Linked DNA regions of Homo sapiens: regions 2, 3 and 4 are each linked to region 1. The links are contacts of gene promoters, found by promoter capture Hi-C in human tissues and cell types (Jung and others, 2019). All regions are on one chromosome and are shown on one strand. The core of a region is centred on a gene start or on the middle of the fragment in contact, and the rest is flanking DNA. Distances in the headings are between cores, read along the strand shown.

Region 1 (4,301 bases), core at 1,216-3,715:
GCCAAGTTTGTAGTTCTGTGAATTCAAACCACTCAAATCATTTTTGGAGTGACTTGTCATACATGATCATTATATGCTTAATCCCCCTAACCCCAACAGCATTCTGAGACCCTGGCCTGCAAAGACAAGCAAAGATAAACTCATCTCCCTGCAGGCCCTGGGTGCTGAGTCCATTCATTCTTTCGATGTCTGTTGAGAGTCTGCAGCATGCAGGCACCGTGTGAAGCTGAGACGCAACCAGGAACGACACAGACAAAAGGCCCTGCCTTTCTAAGAGAAAGAAAAGTAAATAAATACAACGTGTATGGTCTGCTGATGGCGCTATACACTATGCAGAAAAATTAAGCAGCGAGGGACAGAGGATGTGAATACTTTGAGGTGGGAGAAGAATAGAGATTTCAATAGGGAGGGGAGTAGAGATTTCAATGTAAATAGGATTATAAGGGAAAGCTTCAAAGAGAAAAGGACGGATAAGCAAAGACCCTAAGAAGGTGAGGAAACAGCTTTCTGTAGCTGTGCAGAGGAAGAACATTCCAGGCAAAGGGAATGGCCAGTGCAAAAGCCCAGAAGCCTTATCCATCATTCCCAATGCAGAGGGCATCTTTGAAGAGACTAGGAGGGCTTTGTCAGATCACATACATTTCCCCCGCCCCTGGCTATCCCCAACTTCTCATCTCAGTCTAGCTGCCTGCAGACCAATCCAATCTATAGGTTTTTGAACAATTATTTATTGAGCTTCTACAATGGCCAGCCACTGCTTTATTCATCAATGCAGCGGTGTTCTCGTTTTCTTTGTGTTTGCAGTAGTCATATTTAATCGAGAGAGGTCATAATAAAATTTCAGTATCTAATGGGGCTTGAAATCTCAGACCTGGCCTCACTGGGCTGGGTCCATGTGACTCTAATCTGCCCTTTTGTGGGGCCACGTGCCTCCTTGCTTACCACAGACCCAGCTAGATCCAGTAGATGCCCCCCTTATGCAGACTGCCTGACTCTGTATGCTTTGGAGATTTCCACTCTGCCCTAGAGTGTCCCCCATCCCTGCCTGGGGTAACCTCTAACAAAGACAAGAACTGGATACATGCTCTTTGCTGGTCTTGAGGGACAGGGGTCTGCTCCACGTTGGGAGACCTGGAAGAGGCTGGGGAAAGCTTAGCCAGTTCCTTCTCTCCAGGAATGGATGTGATATAGGGGTGAGGGGCGTTGGGAAGCAGCGGGAGTGGGGGGTTTGAGGGCGGGGGGTCTTAGGCTTCTCAGACCCATCACAGCTCTTTGCATAGGCAGCTGCTACAGTCTGCTCCTGGGGATGCCTGGCCTGGGTGTTCCTGCAGAATCTTTAACTCTCTCACACTCACTGTCTTGAGCCCCAGACAGACACTATGTCCCTCTCTCTCTCTCTCTCTCTCTCCTCTCTCTCCTCTCTCTCTCTCTCTCTCTCTTTCTCTCCTCTCTTTCTCCTCAAGTCTGTGGTGGCCACACCCGGAACCCTCCACCTGCCTGCCCTGAGGAGAAAGGACCACCCACCCACACATTGCTTGGATCCCACCTGCCTTACAAATGCTACCCTTCACACAACCTTCAAGCACTCTCGACAAGCCCCCATGACTCCCGCGTGCGTTTTCGTATGTTTGGAGCGCCCTGTGAGTGTGGTCTTGTGCATGGTGATGAGGATGCCTGCGTGTTTTCAAGGGTCTGGGTGTGGGATGGGAGAGCATCCGCGTGCCTGAGTGAGCGTGTGAGTACACCGCATGCCTGGGTATTGTGTGTCTTTGTGTGAGCGTGGGCGAGTGCGTGTTTGAGTGTCTGCAACATCCTTATTCCTGACTGAAGGGCGGCATGCAGGAGGGGCTTCTCTTAGCCAGTCTGTATCCTCTTCAAACGCACTCCAGTTAGGGGACAGTTCACCGGCGGCCACCCCCAGAGTCGCCACACACACGCACAGGGAGGCACGCACCCCTCTTTCCAGAGCCAGCAAGCTCAGCTTCCCTTGTCGAGGAAAACCGACAACGCTTTAGCATCCTCGCTGCTCCAACAGCCCCACCCCTTCCCCCGTTCTTTGCCCTAGGTATAGAATCCTCTATCCGGAGATGGACTGGAAGCATTGGAGAGGGGCAAGAGAGGTGGCTGCGAGGAGAGTGGAGAAAGGCAAACTGAGGACACGCTGGAGGAGTGAGGAGCCGCTGCGGGAGAGGCAGATCCTACCCACACCACGCCCCTCCCTCGGGGTTGGAGATTGGGGATAGCCTGTTTTCCACTCCGGTCTTCCTTCGGGGCTCCCAGGTCTAACTGCATCTTCTCCCCTGAAAGTGGAGCCAAGCGAGGCGGCTGGGACCCCCTCCTCTTCCGCATCCCTCCCACCCCACACACACTCCGCTTCCAGGCAGCCGCTGATTGGCTGCGGGGAGCGGCGTCCCAGCCCCCCGGCTTTGAGGCGGGAGTGGAGCGGGTCCGAGGTGGGAGGCGCACAGACGGGCTCCGGGAGCCCCTCCCGAGGCCCCGCGCAGCGCGCCCCGCACCCTGCGCCCCGCGCCCTGCGGGAGGGCTGAGCCAAGACTCCAGGCGGGCAGGTGCGGAGCGAGCAGAGGGGATCACGGCCAAGGGTAGGAGCCAGTCCTGCGGGGAGAGAGGCGCTGCTGCTCCAGCTGCCGCTGCCTCCGCCGCCGCCACCACCGAGCCGGCGACCAGAGTCGGGCTGGCAGGCCGGGCGCGAAGCGGCAAGGGGAGCGAGGGGCGCGCTCATGGAGCACACGCACGCCCACCTCGCAGCCAACAGCTCGCTGTCTTGGTGGTCCCCCGGCTCGGCCTGCGGCTTGGGTTTCGTGCCCGTGGTCTACTACAGCCTCTTGCTGTGCCTCGGTTTACCAGGTGAGGGGCGTGGGGGAGAGGGAGGGAAGCCAGGAACCCCAAGTGCCGGGCAACCCTACCCAGAATCCCCCGTCCTCCCCCGTGCGTTCCCTGGCGCCCCCTCGGAAAAAGTTTAAGCTTTAAGGGCAACTATGGATATTTCCACACGGGGGGAAAGGAAGTTGCTGTGCCCTAGCTGGGGACCGTGTGTGTGTGTGTGCGCGCGCGAGCGTGTGTGTGTGTGTGTGTGTGTGTGTGATGACTGTGACGGCGGGCGATGGGCTGGGCATGTGAGCATGGATTCGAAGGTGCATTTGTGCGCGCATCTGGAGGGGGCGGCTTTCATGGGGTGGGGGCGTAGAGGGCTTTGTGTGTGTTTGGCTTGACTGCATGTTCTGGACAGAAGGCTTCGTGGAGGCTTCCCTTCTCCCGTGGCCCCTGCACGTCCACCCCACTTGGGGCACCTCTGCCCCTCTGCGTGTCCCCGCCTGACACGAGATGAAGCTGGAGACCCTGACATTGAGCACTCTCTTGCTCGGGGGGCACTGGAATGGAGAAAGAATGCCTAGCAAGAAAAGGGTCTCCCAGCTGGCTAAGGAGAATCAGGGGTTGGCTCTGGGACCATGCCCTGGCCAGGGCAAGGGTGCAGAGACACACAGGGCAGCCTGCGGTGGCTGCCACCTCAGGGGGTCACAGTCTCCTTGAGGACATGCCTGGCCCCCTGGCTTGGCCTCCAGGTCTACCCACCCTGGGCAGCTCACGGCTGCTGTGGATGTCTGGCTGGTCCCACATCTTAATGTCCTTTCCAAAGTGTGGCTGAGACTTGTCCTGAATTCCTGAAGAGAGCTGAGCTGCCGAGAAGGAGGGAGTGCTTGCCTGGGCCGTGTGCGAGAGAGAGCGAGAGAGAGAGAAAGCTTTTTTCCTGGGGCTCCAGCTTTGGGTGGACCCTCCTTGCAGGCAGTCTTGGTGACAAATAGATCCCTAAAGATTACTTGCATGCAGAGAGGAGAGAGGGACTGAAAGAAGCAGAGAGAAAGAGAGAAAAAAAATCCAGTGTACAGCCTGAAATCTTAGCATCATCTCCCTAGTCATCTCTTAGTCTGCGAACCTTAGCATCTTGCGATCCTGGGAACTTGGGAGCTGGATTTCTGAGAGCCTGGCTGAGATTTCCTTTCCCAAACATTCAACTTGGCAGTCAGGGCCCCTGATGAGATTGTTTCAATAAATCCCCCCTCCCAAATTTGGCAGGCATGAGAAAGCGCAAGTTTACTAATGTGTGAGCCTCTCTCCCCAAGCCAGTGATGAGGCTTTTATTCCTAACTAATCGCCACGGCTGCCCTAGGAGAGCAGCTCAGCCTCTGACTTGCCCTGCCGGGGTGGTAGCACATGTCCTGTAATTACCTTGAGCTGGGATTGATTTTAGTCCAGGTTCCACCTCCCCCCTTCAGCCCTTCGGA
Region 2 (4,301 bases), core at 717-3,216, 230 kb before region 1:
TGCACATGCAGAAAGCCTCAGAGACCCTCAAGTCAGCCACTTACATATTTATTGTCATGAATTACTTTGTAACAACCAATATTTTTTAACACCCCCTACGTATAAGGCATTATTTTAAGTGCATTTTGGGCATTATATCATTCCACCCTCACATTAGACATTGAAGGTAGCCACTATTATTACCTTCAATTTAGTGACGAGTAAACCGGTGCTTTAAAAAGATAATTACTCAAAGGCCTATAGCTTTTAAATGCTGATTTCAGGGCTTGAACCCAGGTAGCCAGACGTTGAAGCAAATGCTCTAAACTAGACTCTGTATCCTGCCTCCATTTATATATAACACTTAACACACACACACACATAAACACACACACACACAGTGCGGCACCCATATACACACAAACGTATATGTGTATAACATATATGCACCCACTTGCAAACAGGTATGTGGACAGACACATGCATTTTCCAGCAAAGGCCCTCACACATACACAGGCATTAATAGTCATGGGCGTATAGATGTTGAGATGTGTGCGCTGACTTATGCATCATGATTTAGTGCAGACACACCAATGGAACTTCACATATAACTTAATACAGAAAAAAAACCCACAGAGACACTCCAATGTGTCATACGTGCACACACATATGTCTGCACATGCACGCATACATATACACATAAACACACACATACATCCCTACGAGACACAGGATCTGGATCCAACTCTCCTAGAACCAGGATTCCTGCCATGTTTCTCTCCCATCAGCTTACATCTCCCACCCCCAGTGCTGTTCAGCTGGGCTCTGGGGCAAGATAAATTCCAGCTGCAGAGGGCTCAGTGAAATGGGCCCTGGACCCAGCATCTGAAAGTTCTGGAGAGTAAGGATGTTGGGGATAGCCAGAAGCAACCTGAAGACTAGTCTTCCATACCCAGGAAGACTGGCCTCTCAGGTTTGAAGAAGCCTTTGCAAGCAGCTGGTAGAGGATACCGAGTGGCTTAAGGTGCCCTCCCCTCCAAGAACTTCAACTCTTCTTGGGGAAACAGAATGCAGATACTGGGCAGCAAAAGCTTAGTAGTGTAAGACTGAGACAGATACTGCAAGACTCAGAGAAGGGAGAGCTCAGCCCAGCCTGGGAGAAGAGGGAAGGGCTCAATCCCAGTCCCTTCATTTCATGGATGGAAATTAAGGTCCAGCAAAGACAAGTGGCATGTCCATCCTTAATGACCAGGCAGGGATGAAGGTGGCAGGGAGAAAGGTAAAACTGGTCACCTGAAGGAAATTTGGCATGGGAACCCCAGAGGATACACCCCACCCATCCTAACTCATTTCATAATCTCTCCTCACTCCGTTCCTCTCTTTCAGCCTCTTTCTCCTGTGAAGGGCCAGAAATCACCCTCATATTTTCTATCATATTAGATTCTCCCTTCTAAAAGTCTATCAAATTCATCCACTTTTCTTCAACCCCATTGAATCTGATCTTTTCCGGGCTACTTTCATCTCTCACCTTAACCACCATAATAGCTTCTTAAGTGGCCTTTCTTCAGGCTCACCTCTCTCAATCCATTCTCTACTCTGCAGCTAGTGAGCATTTAAAACAAAAGACACTTTCTCCTTTAGATCGCTCCAGAGGCTCTTTACCTTCTATAGGATGAGTTCTGCCTGCTTACCTGACAGATCACATTCTTCACCATCTGAGCCATTGCCTGCCTCTCCAGACTTAGCCCTTAAACATATCCCCTTCATAACCCAGCTTCCAGTGCCACGGAATTTCTCAGGCTCCCTGAGCTGTTCTATTGCACTCTACCCTACTCTCGTGTGCTGTTTTGCTGCCTGGAGGACACTTCCCCTTATTGGGGTTATTTCTCCTATGAAGGCTTCCTGGATCCCCCTGTCCAGTGTAGAGTAGGCAAATCAATCAATAGAAAATAGACCCACAAACGACAAATAATATAATCAGCAGACCAGAAAGTCAACACAGTTTAAAAAATACATTCCATTTTTTTCAAGAAAGTAGAGAAAAGCATGAGCATGATAAGTAGAGAAAAGGAAGATATATATTTTAAAAAACTACTACCCTACTTTATGACCTCTTCTTTACAGACTTTTTTTTTTTTTTTTTTTTTTTTGAGATGAAGTCTCACTCTTGTTGCCCAGGCTGGAGTGCAGTGGCGCGATCTCAGCTCACCACAACCTCTGCCTCTCCGGTTCAAGTGATTCTCCTGCCTCAGCCTCCCGAGTAGCTGGGATTACAGGTGACTGCCACCACGCCTGGCTATTTTTTTGTATTTTTAGTAAAGATGGGGTTTTACCATGTTGGCCAGGCTGGTCTCGAACTCCTGACCTCAGGTGATCTGCCTGCCTTAGCCTCCTAAAGTGCTGGGATTACAGGCATGAGCCACTCTACAGACTTTGATAATCACATGTAGCGTCTGCATCTGAAATTGTTTTTACATCTGTCCCACCTGCACCCTTCACCCCAGGCTGTTAGTTTCTTGAGGACAAGGACTTCATCATTTTCAAACATTATTGGTCAAATAAATGAAGAAATAGGCTGCATCCTTTCTCTTTATCCTTTGACCTCCTCTATCATCCTGCTGTTATCTTCCAGAAGGAGAAGAAACAGCTTCACAGGAAAAGTAGAGGAGATTTTCCCATTATGGTGAAAGTGCCAAATCAGAATGTGAAATAGGAATTCTGGGCTCTGTACCAGGCATTTACTCCTATGCTGTTAGCTGATGTTAAAGAGGGTGGATTTCTTTTCCCTTAGGTCTCACCTTCTGTGCCTTCAGGGGAAGTTGGTTGGAAGTTTGAATGGTTTGTTGTTGTCGTCATTGTTTTGTATTTAGGAGGGCTGTAATGGAACGAATACAATGGTTATTGATGGAGAGTAAGTTGAGAGAAGCTCAAGGGTGATTATTTAATGGCAGGAGGGGGAGAAAAAAAGTAAATCTATAAAGAGCTTGGGACACCAAGTCCAGAACTTCATGCATATAACAGCCAATTAACAATCAAATTTTAGAAAGTCTCAGAGAGGGACTTGCAAACACACAAATATCAGAAAAAGCATTTGTAGCGGAGACCAACCAAAACACTGGATTCTGGGAGCCTCTGTCTGAGAATGGAATTAACTTTGTTTCATAGAAGACTTTATAGGCTTTATAGGGGAGACGGGGAAGGACCTAGTTGTACATATTTCATTTCAATGCATAAACATATACCTATATACCTACAAGACACAGGATCTGGATCCAACTCTCTAAGAACCAGGACTTGGACTGTGAGTCCCAGAACATCCATGAAAGTGTTCCCACTTCTTATATGGAAGATGAGAGTAGTAGCTGCCCTAATAACTGGAGGGTTGCTAGAGAGATAAAGGAGACAAGGGATAGGTCACTTTGTGTAGTCACTTTGCAATGCATAAAAGCTAGTTCAACCATTGTGGAAGACAGTGTGGTGATTCCTCAAGGATCTAGAACTAGAAATACCATTTGACCCAGCCATCCCATTACTGGGTATATACCCAAAGGATTATAAATCATGCTGCTATAAAGACACATGCACACGTATGTTTATTGTGGCACTATTCACAATAGCAAAGACTTGGAACTAACCCAAATGTCCATCAATGATAGACTGGATTAAGAAAATGTGGCACATATACACCATGGAATACTATGCAGCCATAAAAAAGATGAGTTCAGGTCCTTTGTAGGGACATGGATGAAGCTGGAAACCATCATTCTCAGCAAACTATCGCAAGGACAAAAAACCAAACACCGCATGTTCTCACTCATAGATGGGAATTGAACAATGAGAACATTTGGACACAGGAAGGGAAACATCACACACTGGGGCCTGTCATGGGGTGGGGGGAGGGGGGAGGGATAGCATTAGGAGATACACCTAATGTAAATGACGAGTTAATGGGTACAGCACACCAACATGGCGCATGTATACATATGTAACAAACCTGCACATTGTGCACATGTACCCTAGAACTTAAAGTATAAAAAAACAAACAAACAAACAAAAAAACACATCGTACTGGCTCATGCCTGTAATCCCAATGCTTCGGGAGTCTGAGGCAGGTGGATCACCTGACACCTGGTCAGGAGTTCGAGACCAGCCTGGCCAACATGGTGAATCCCCATCTCTACTATAAATATAAAAATTAACCAGGAGTGGTGGTGCGTGGCTGTAATCCCAGCTACTCCGGAGGCTAAGGCAGGAGAATCACTTGAACCCGGGAGGTGAAGGTTGCAGTGAGCTGAGATAGTGCCATTGCACTCCAGCCCGGG
Region 3 (4,301 bases), core at 918-3,417, 160 kb before region 1:
GGATTCAGGTGTGGCTCTATGAGCAAGTGAATATGTAGATAGAAGGCTGTATCATTGGTTTTGATAAGTATATGAATCTTGTATTAGATGACGCAGAAGAGATTCATTCTAAAACAAAGTCAAGAAAACAACTGGGTCGGATCATACTAAAAGGAGATAATATTCCTCTGCTACAAAGTGTCTCCAACTAGAAATGATCAACGAAGTGAGAAACTGTTGAGAAGGATACAGTTTGTTTTGAGATGTCCTTTGTCCAATATAAACATTTATTCATATTGTTTTGATTACCCTTATGTTATTACAAGAAGGGAATAAATGCTATGGGATTATTTGTATTAAAAAAATGAAAGTTGGGGGGGAAAAAAGCACAAATACACTTGTGTTACTCCCTTGCTCAGAACTCTCCAGTGATTCTCCTTTGCCTTCAGGAGACAGTCTCAATTTATAAATGGGGAAACTGGAGTTTGAAGAGGTTAAAACATTTGCCCAAAGCCACACAGGTAGTAAATGACATAGGATTTCAACCCAGACTTTCCATGTCCACATTCTACCTTTTTCACCACTAAGATATACCAAGGATAAAAGAATAGGTGATTACAAGGTATGGATGGGTGAACAGATGAAATTACAAAAGGGACAGAAACACAGGATAGAAGCATGAGTGGAAGTCTAGAAGGATGGCAGACTCTAGAAGGAAAGGATGGGTGGATGGATGAATGGAAGGGTGGAAGGATAGAAGAATAGAAAGACAGAAGAATAAATGGACTGAAGGATGAAAATATGGAGGGATTCTCCTGAGTTGCATTCACTCCCTCTGTCTTACCTAGGTTTACCTAGCAAGGGTTCTGTCCCTGGACACCTACCTGAGACATTTGCTGAGAACACAGCAAATCCTATGGACACTTCCATTTCCTAGCTGTTAGTTTCCTTTTCCTCCATCTGTTCAAACCCAGTTCATCTCTGAACAGGTCTCTCTTGGTAACCAGCTTCCAGGGAACTGACCACTTCTGTCTTCTTCCAGAAGCTCAGGTTTTTCGATGACCAGGGACCAAATTTTGAATCTTAAGAACGAACATTCACTAGGCACTTACTGTATGCTAATTGTATAATTCTGTCATTTAATCTTCACAACACACTTACACGGTAGGTACTGTAATCCTCTCCATTCTGAAGATGAAGAAATAGAGTCACAGAGATCTCACATAATTTACTCAAAGTTGCAAAACTACAGAGTGGTACATCCCAGGATTGCTGAGGCAATCAGAACCCGAGGTGTGCACACATAATGACTACACTATACTTTTTCTCTCTTTAGCTACCTCAACTGGTAGCTCCATTCCCCGTATTTGGATGGAAAATCTATTATCAGTCCATGAGGACTAGAGTCACATTATCTGTTAAGCCCTTACCTATGGCATTTCTCATGCACCTACCAATTTATACTGAACAATAGTCATGATGAACAGCCACTAAGTGCAAGTTACAAAAGTTTCACCATTATGAAACCATAACCCTATATGCCACAAAGGCACCTCCCACATTGATTAAAGGGCCACTGGCATTTTGAGAAAAACAGTCCTATCAGTGACATAGCCTAGTTGGAACAAAAGATCCACAGAATTGTGATGAATGAGACTGTGGGCAAGCACCCATCTAATTTGGTTGAAAATATACCACAGTGGTTTCAGAATCTGGCCAACCTGGATTCTGGCTCCAGCTCTGTCATTTGGTTAAGATATGTGATGTCAGCCAGTACTTGACATCTCTGAGCCTCAATTTTCTTATATGCAAAATGGGGGGAATAATAGCAGCTTGTATGAATAGATGTAAGAATGAATGAGATAACCCGTACAAAGGGCTTAGTACAATCAGAAATACACAATTGATCATTATCATGGTGTGGTTGTTATATCCAGACCGCTGGAGCAACTATGTTTCTCTCCATCTCTCTCTCTCTCTGTCCCCCTCTGTGTGTATGTGTGTGTGTTCAAACAAAGCAAAAAATCAAATTCAGCACACTTCGACCAAAGGTCCAATCCTCTTTCCTCTGTTTGTTTGTTTTTCCTTTTCCAGAAGCTTCCCAAAGTCCTCCTGCCAGAGAATCAGTTGGGTGAACTCCTCCTCTGGCTTGATTAACTTCCCCTTGTTAACTGACCGGGTTCAATGCAATTTAATTTCATTGAGAGGAAGTGGTTCAGAAATCAGGGTCATTTAATTTCTGAAAGGCGAGTGAAATGTTGCCTTTCCCAAGTGATCTTTCTGCCATTTGTTCCCGTTAAAATGAAAAGTACAGTGGTTAATACAATGGCTTCAAGGTTATGTTAGATCACCTTTGCAAGTAAGAGAAGAATTCTTTCTACAAGATTTTAATTAGGTCAAGTACAACTAATTCATCCTTTGGCACTTATTCCATTTCCTTTTCTTCTGTAATTACTGCCAGTGTAACGCTCCTCACACACACAAATGGAGCTGAAGAAAGCCCTGCGATTATCCTTTATTTCTCCTTCATGCAAGAAAGGAGGGGGTTATCTACTGCATTCAGCCTTTGTAAATCTGGGGACTATAGTCCTAATAGCCTTACTCACATGAGTGCCAACCTCCCTGTAGGAGTGAGGGGGTTCCTAATTTGATCCCAACACCACAACACACACATCTCCCCTTTACCTTATCTACAGAAGGTGACTAGGCATCAAGACAAAGGAAGTCAACTCAGGTACATGTTGTCAATCAATAAACCTGTATTGAGCGCCTACCAAGGGCTCAGTAGGGTGTTAGGTGCATGGGAGTGGGGTTGCAAAAGACTTAAAGGAGCTTAGTCAGGTTTGGCGAGACAGATAATTAGCAGGTAAAATAAATCAGCAGTACTCAGCTTGGTTCTAGAAGAGCGAAGGCACTGTGTGTGGTGGAGGACATGAAGGAGGTGGGGGAGGCAACTGAACGCTTCAAGGAGGAGGTAAGCCTTGAGTTGACCTTGGAAGCACCAGTAGGATGCAGATCTCTCGCTCTTTTAAAAATACGTATTTATTGAGTGCCTAATATGTGCTGGGCATTGTCTAAGTATTTTATATGCCATATTTCATTTACTCCTTTCTTCGATCCTGACAGGCAGGTGCTGTCTTTGCCCCCACGTTACAGATGAGAAAACTAAGACTCTGAGATGTAAAGCAGTGAAATGTTCAAGAACATATGACACTGGCAAAGCTTGGATTCAAACCCAGGTTTTTTTTCCTTTTCTTTCTTTTTTTTTTTTTTTTTTTTTGGAGATGGAGTCTCGCTCACTCTGTCACCAAGTCTGGAGTGCAGTGGCACAATCTTGGCTCACTGCAACCTCCACCTCCCAGTTTCAAGTGATTCTCCTGCCTCAGTCTCCTGAGTAGCTGGGATTATAGGCACACACCACCACGCCCAGCTAACTTTTGTATTTTTAGTACAGACAAGGTTTCACCATGTTGGCCGGGCTAGTCTCGAACTCCTGACGTCAGGTAATCCGCCTGCCTTGGCCTCCCAAAGTGCTGAGATTACAGGCATGAACCACAGCACCCAGCCCCAAATCCAGGTTTTCATCATAGCACTTGTCACTGGCTGTAATTCTCTTGCTTTAATTGTGTATTTATGAGTCTTCTCCCTCTAATATGTGAACTCCAAGAGAGGAAGACTTTATCTGGCTTGATTACTGCAGACTACTCAACATCTGGATCCCTGACTGGCATAGGGTAGGTGATCAGCAAGTACTTGTGGAATAACAGACTGGATCGCATACTCCAAGAGCCAAGAGGAGAAGGATGCTATGCTATAAACTCCAACGAGTCAGTTTCCGTGGCTGTCTTGCACCCTGCAGTATCACTAGCACCCAGGACAATGTCCACAGTACATGACAGCTACTCAATCACTGTTGAATGAAGAAAGGAGAGAAAGAAAGATCACTGGAACAGAAGGACACTCACCAGTTTAGTAGAATGCAAATTCAGGTCAGCTAAACTATTATTCTTTGTCATTGATGGAGAAAGAAATTGTTACAGACTGAGCCAGAGATACTCACTGTCCTGAATCCATTCCCAAGAAGATCCAAATGCCTGGCAAGCCCGTGTTCCCGGTGATCCCCTCTGTGCTTGTCACTTCGGCCTCACTTAAAAGAGAAAGTGCCCTCAGGATCCTACAGATCTCACTGCCAGCTTGGATTCTCTTTTCATTAATTTGTGTTTTCCTAAGGAATATTTATTCATGTAGTCTGTGTTTGGGCAATTATTGAAATTATGTATAATTACGGGTGATAGTAAATAATAATAATCACCTAGCTGCAA
Region 4 (4,301 bases), core at 1,040-3,539, 160 kb after region 1:
CCTGCCTCAGCCTCCCAAGCAGCTGGCACCACAGGCGCGCATCCTGACACCTGGCTAATTTTTTTATATTTTAGCAGAGATGGGGTTTCCTTCAGTTGGCCAGGCTGGTCGAACTCCTGACCTCAGGTGATCCACCTGCCTCGGCCTCCCAAAGTGCTGGGATTACAGACTTGAGCCACCGTGCCTAGCCACTGTTTAATTCTATTACTATGCAAACATTGCCTTGCTCAAAACAAACAAGATGTAAAATAAAAAATAAAGGCTACACAAAACCACTTTTCCGCACCAATGTCCTCACTTTACAGATGGAAAACTGAGACCAAATAAGAGAAAGCTCCCTCTGTGCACAAAGCCTCTGGCTCTCATGGCAGTGGAGACCCCTCCCTCTGAGCTCCCAGAGCCCTTTGTTCTTCTCCAGGTTGGAGCATTGACCACGTCTTGTTGCCAACATTCTCATGCCTTGTCCATCTCTGTGCCTTCGGTATCCAGCCCAAGACGTCTTTAAACTTCTGTCATTTTTGTTCCTGCACTCATCCTGCAACTGATATTTGTTGAGAACTGATCATGGTCCAGGCACTATGCTAAGTGCTGTGAGTACATTGATAACCCTCAGGGGCAAAGTCCCTCCCGACCATAGAGACAGGGCTGCCACGTACAGCCTCACAGGATGCACACTGCACAATTTCAGAACGTGACATTCACATATGCTATTATTTAACTGGTATTCTCTGGATTTGTGCAGTGCACAACCTAGGTAACTATATACAGTTTCCCTGCCCATATTTCCAGTAGTTCAGCGGGGAAGATAAATTAAACAAAGCAGTATATATTTATTTTCATTGGAATCAGGGCAATTAAAAAAAAAGAACCATGTTGCTAAAAGAGAGAACAAATAGACAGATCTATTTTGAGTTTCACATAAGCCATTCAGAGAAAGTGATATTTATATACATTTATTTATTTATTTATTTATTTATTTATTTATTTATTTATTTATTTGATACAGAGTCTCATTCTATTGCCTAGGATCCAGGGCAGTGGTGTGATCACAGCTAACTGCAGCATTGACCTCCCAGGCTCAAGCAATCCTGCCTCAGCCTCTCAAGTCGCTGGGACCACAGGCACACACCACCATGCCCGGCTAATTTTTGCGTCTTTTGTAGAGACAGGGTTTCGCCATGTCTATCAGGCTGGTCTTGAACTCCTGGACTCAAGTGATCCACCCTCCTTGGTCTGCCAAAGTACTGGGATTACAGGTGTGAGCCACCACACCCAGCCAGAAAGTTATATTTAAACCAAGACCTGGTATTTGTCAGGAATTTTATTTAGTTGATAGTAACAGAGGCTGGACTTAGTAGCTTTAGTGAAACAGAGCTTCTTTTTTCGCTTGTTCCACAGGAAATCAGAAAGTAGGCAGCCCAGGACTGATTTGGGAGTTCCAGCAGTTATCAGGACCCCAGCCTCCTTCTGTCTTTCTGCTCCATACCCCTTAGCATGTGGTTTTCATCCTCAAGGTTGTCTCATGGTCCAAGATGGTTGCCAGAGCTCCAGCCACTACATCTGCCTCACAGACAACAACATGGGACAAGGACATTAGAGACATAAGGGACGCCTCCCCAGTCCACTTAAGGAGCTGACCATAAGTTTCACAAAATATTCCACATCCATCTCATTGGCCCAAAACTAGTTACGTGAATATCGCACGCTGGAAGAGAGGCTGGGGCATGTGAGCTCTAAAGAGTTGCCCAGGGTTTTATTACCAAAAAGGGGAAATTATGATTGAGAGGTAATACGTAGCCCCTGTTATGGACTGGGAGAATAAACGGGAGATAATTAAGTGAAAGTGTTGTGGGGAGCAGGTTCCAGGCAGAGGGAATAGCAAATACAAAGGATCCAAGAGAAGGAGGTTGGGCCGGGGCACAGCGGTTCACACCTGTAATCCCAGCACTTTTGGAGGCCAAGGCAGAAGGATCGCTTACGCCCAGGAGTTTGAGACCAGCCTGGGCAACATAGAGAGATCCCGTCTCTACAAAAAATACCAAAATAAATAAATAAATAATAGCCAGCCGCGGTGGTATGTGAATAAAAATAAAAATAAATTTAAAAAATACTCTGTTGCCCAGGCTGGAGGGCAGTGGTGCAATCATGGCTCACTGCAGCCTCGACCTCCTGGGCTCAGGTAATCCTCCCATCTCAGCCTCCTGAGTAGCTGGGACTACAGGCACATACCACCATGGCTGACTAATTTTTCAAAAATAAAAATAAAAATATTAAAAAATAAAATAAATTTTAAAATATTCAAAAATAAAAATAAAATTTAAAAATATTTTTGAATATTTTAAATATAGTGGGCCGGGCGCGGTGGCTCACGCCTGTAATCTCTGCACTTTGTGAGGCCGAGGCAGGTGGATCACCTGAAGTCAGGAGTTCAAGACCAGCCTGGCCAACATGATGAAACCCCCTCTCTACTAAAAATACAAAAACTTAGCTGGGTGTGGTGCCACACTCCTGTAATCCCAGCTACTCAGGAGGCTGAGGCAGGAGAATCACTAGAACCTGGGAGGCAGAGGTTGCAGTGAGCCGAGATTGCACCACTGCACTCCATCCTGAGCAAGAAGAGCAAAACTGCGTCTCAAAATAAAATAAAATAATAAATAAATATATATATATTTAACGAGCGAGATTCCATCTCGAATTTGAATATTTAAAATATTCAAAAAATTATATTTTAATAAAATTAAAAATAATTTTTATTTTATTCAAAAATAAAAATAAATTAAAGAAATAAAAAGAAGGAGGTTGGTCTGTTCTCAGAACTGAAAGGAGACCAGCATGGTTGGAGCACATTCAATGGGAGAAGATGAGGAACCAGGGGAAGGAGAAATACCCAGGCTCGCAGGCACATCAGCAAACCCAGCTGCATGCCTTCCACTCTGGGCGAAGCCTTGGCATCAAACAGACCCATGTTCATATTCTAACATCACCTTTTACAACTGAGAGCCCTCAGGTAAGTCTTTTAACTTACCTGAGCCTCCACTTCCTTACCTGTAAAACAAGAATTATACCTGTATGATTTCTTATTTGAATAAGAATTTGAATAATAGATTTCTTATGTGAATTAAATGAGATAATGCATATAAGGAGGTTAGCACAGCGCCTAACACATATTGAGCACACAGTATTATTGATTCGCTACACATTGACCATGAAGACTTACGTGATTGTGGCCTAGTCAAGAGTCAAGGTTGTAACTCCAGGCTCGAGCAAATTCACTGGCTTAGTGCTTAAAAGTTAGTCATAGTTAGTGCTTAACGTAAAAGTTGGGTATGGGACAGGCACAGTGGCTCAAGCCTGTAATCCCAGCACTTTGGGAGGCTGAGGCAGGCGGATCATTTGAGGTCAGGAGTTCGAGACCAGCCTGCATGGTGAAACCCCACCTCTACTAAAAATACAAAAAAAAATTAGCCAGGCATGGTGATGCATGCCTGTAATTCCAGCTACTCAGGAGGCTGAGGCACAAGAATCACTTGAACCCAGGAGGCAGAGGTTGCAGTGAACCAAGATCTCGCCACTGCACTCCAGCCTGGGCAAGAGCAAGATTCCATCTCAAAACAAAAAAAAAACAAAACAGAAAACAAAAAAACAATAGCTGAGTGTCACGGGGCATGCCAGTAGTCCCAGCTGCTCAGAAGACTGAAGCTGGAGGCTTGGTGGAGCCCAGGAGTTTGAGTTCATCCTGGGCAACATAGCAAGACCCTATCACAAAAAAATAAGAAGTAAAATAATAATAATGCAAAATAAAACATCTTTTAAAATGATAGGTGTTACTATTGTGGCTCTTGGTGAGGACAGCAGATGGCTCATCAGAATTTCTTCCAGAGCCTCTCTTGGCCTCCCCACCGTGCCAGGCAACCACGGAAACATTCAGTCTTCAGATTACCAACCTCAACTGCAAACTAGAAAGGAGGGTCCCAGAATGGAAAGTGCCACCCTAAGAATGGAAAGTGCCACCCTAAATTGCAAACAGACCCCCCGGGTGCCAGGCGAGAGCCTCAAACACGCTCTCTACTTTGCTCAGGCTCTCGGAGTCAATCAGCTCAGGCTCTGATGCAGAAACGCTTACCGCCCTGAACTCGAATAAAGCTCACACTCAGACTCCAGGAACCACCGTCTTTTACATCCCCATCGATCCTCTAAGCCTATTTTTATGATTCCTCTTCCCAGTGAGTGTTGTGTATATTTTTGGGCTGTGTTCCTCTCATAAATAAATAAATGTGTAGGTAAATACTAATAAGAGCTAG

What was found. The method cuts DNA at HindIII sites, captures the fragments that hold promoters and counts their contacts. A contact is called where the count stands out against the background at its distance.
Region 2: a fragment that was not itself captured here is called in contact with the fragment with the promoter of GPR139 in region 1 in 1 of the 25 tissues and cell types used here (spleen).
Region 3: a fragment that was not itself captured here is called in contact with the fragment with the promoter of GPR139 in region 1 in 2 of the 25 tissues and cell types used here (aorta and dorsolateral prefrontal cortex).
Region 4: a fragment that was not itself captured here is called in contact with the fragment with the promoter of GPR139 in region 1 in 1 of the 25 tissues and cell types used here (H1 embryonic stem cells).

The regions. Positions count from the first base shown.
Region 1 is chr16:20,072,054-20,076,354 of GRCh38, reverse strand. GPR139 (G protein-coupled receptor 139) reads left to right here and starts at 2,465. Exons shown (of 2, transcript NM_001002911.4): 1 at 2,465-2,865. The coding sequence starts at 2,739. The HindIII fragment of the contact is 2,569 bases long and covers 802-3,370 here.
Region 2 is chr16:20,304,086-20,308,386 of GRCh38, reverse strand. No RefSeq gene overlaps it. Among named protein-coding and RNA genes, the nearest start is that of GP2, 21 kb to the left of the region's middle. The HindIII fragment of the contact is 5,150 bases long and covers 1-4,301 here.
Region 3 is chr16:20,234,859-20,239,159 of GRCh38, reverse strand. It overlaps the pseudogene SNRPEP3. Among named protein-coding and RNA genes, the nearest start is that of GP2, 91 kb to the left of the region's middle. The HindIII fragment of the contact is 3,450 bases long and covers 443-3,892 here.
Region 4 is chr16:19,913,532-19,917,832 of GRCh38, reverse strand. No RefSeq gene overlaps it. Among named protein-coding and RNA genes, the nearest start is that of GPRC5B, 31 kb to the right of the region's middle. The HindIII fragment of the contact is 7,764 bases long and covers 1-4,301 here.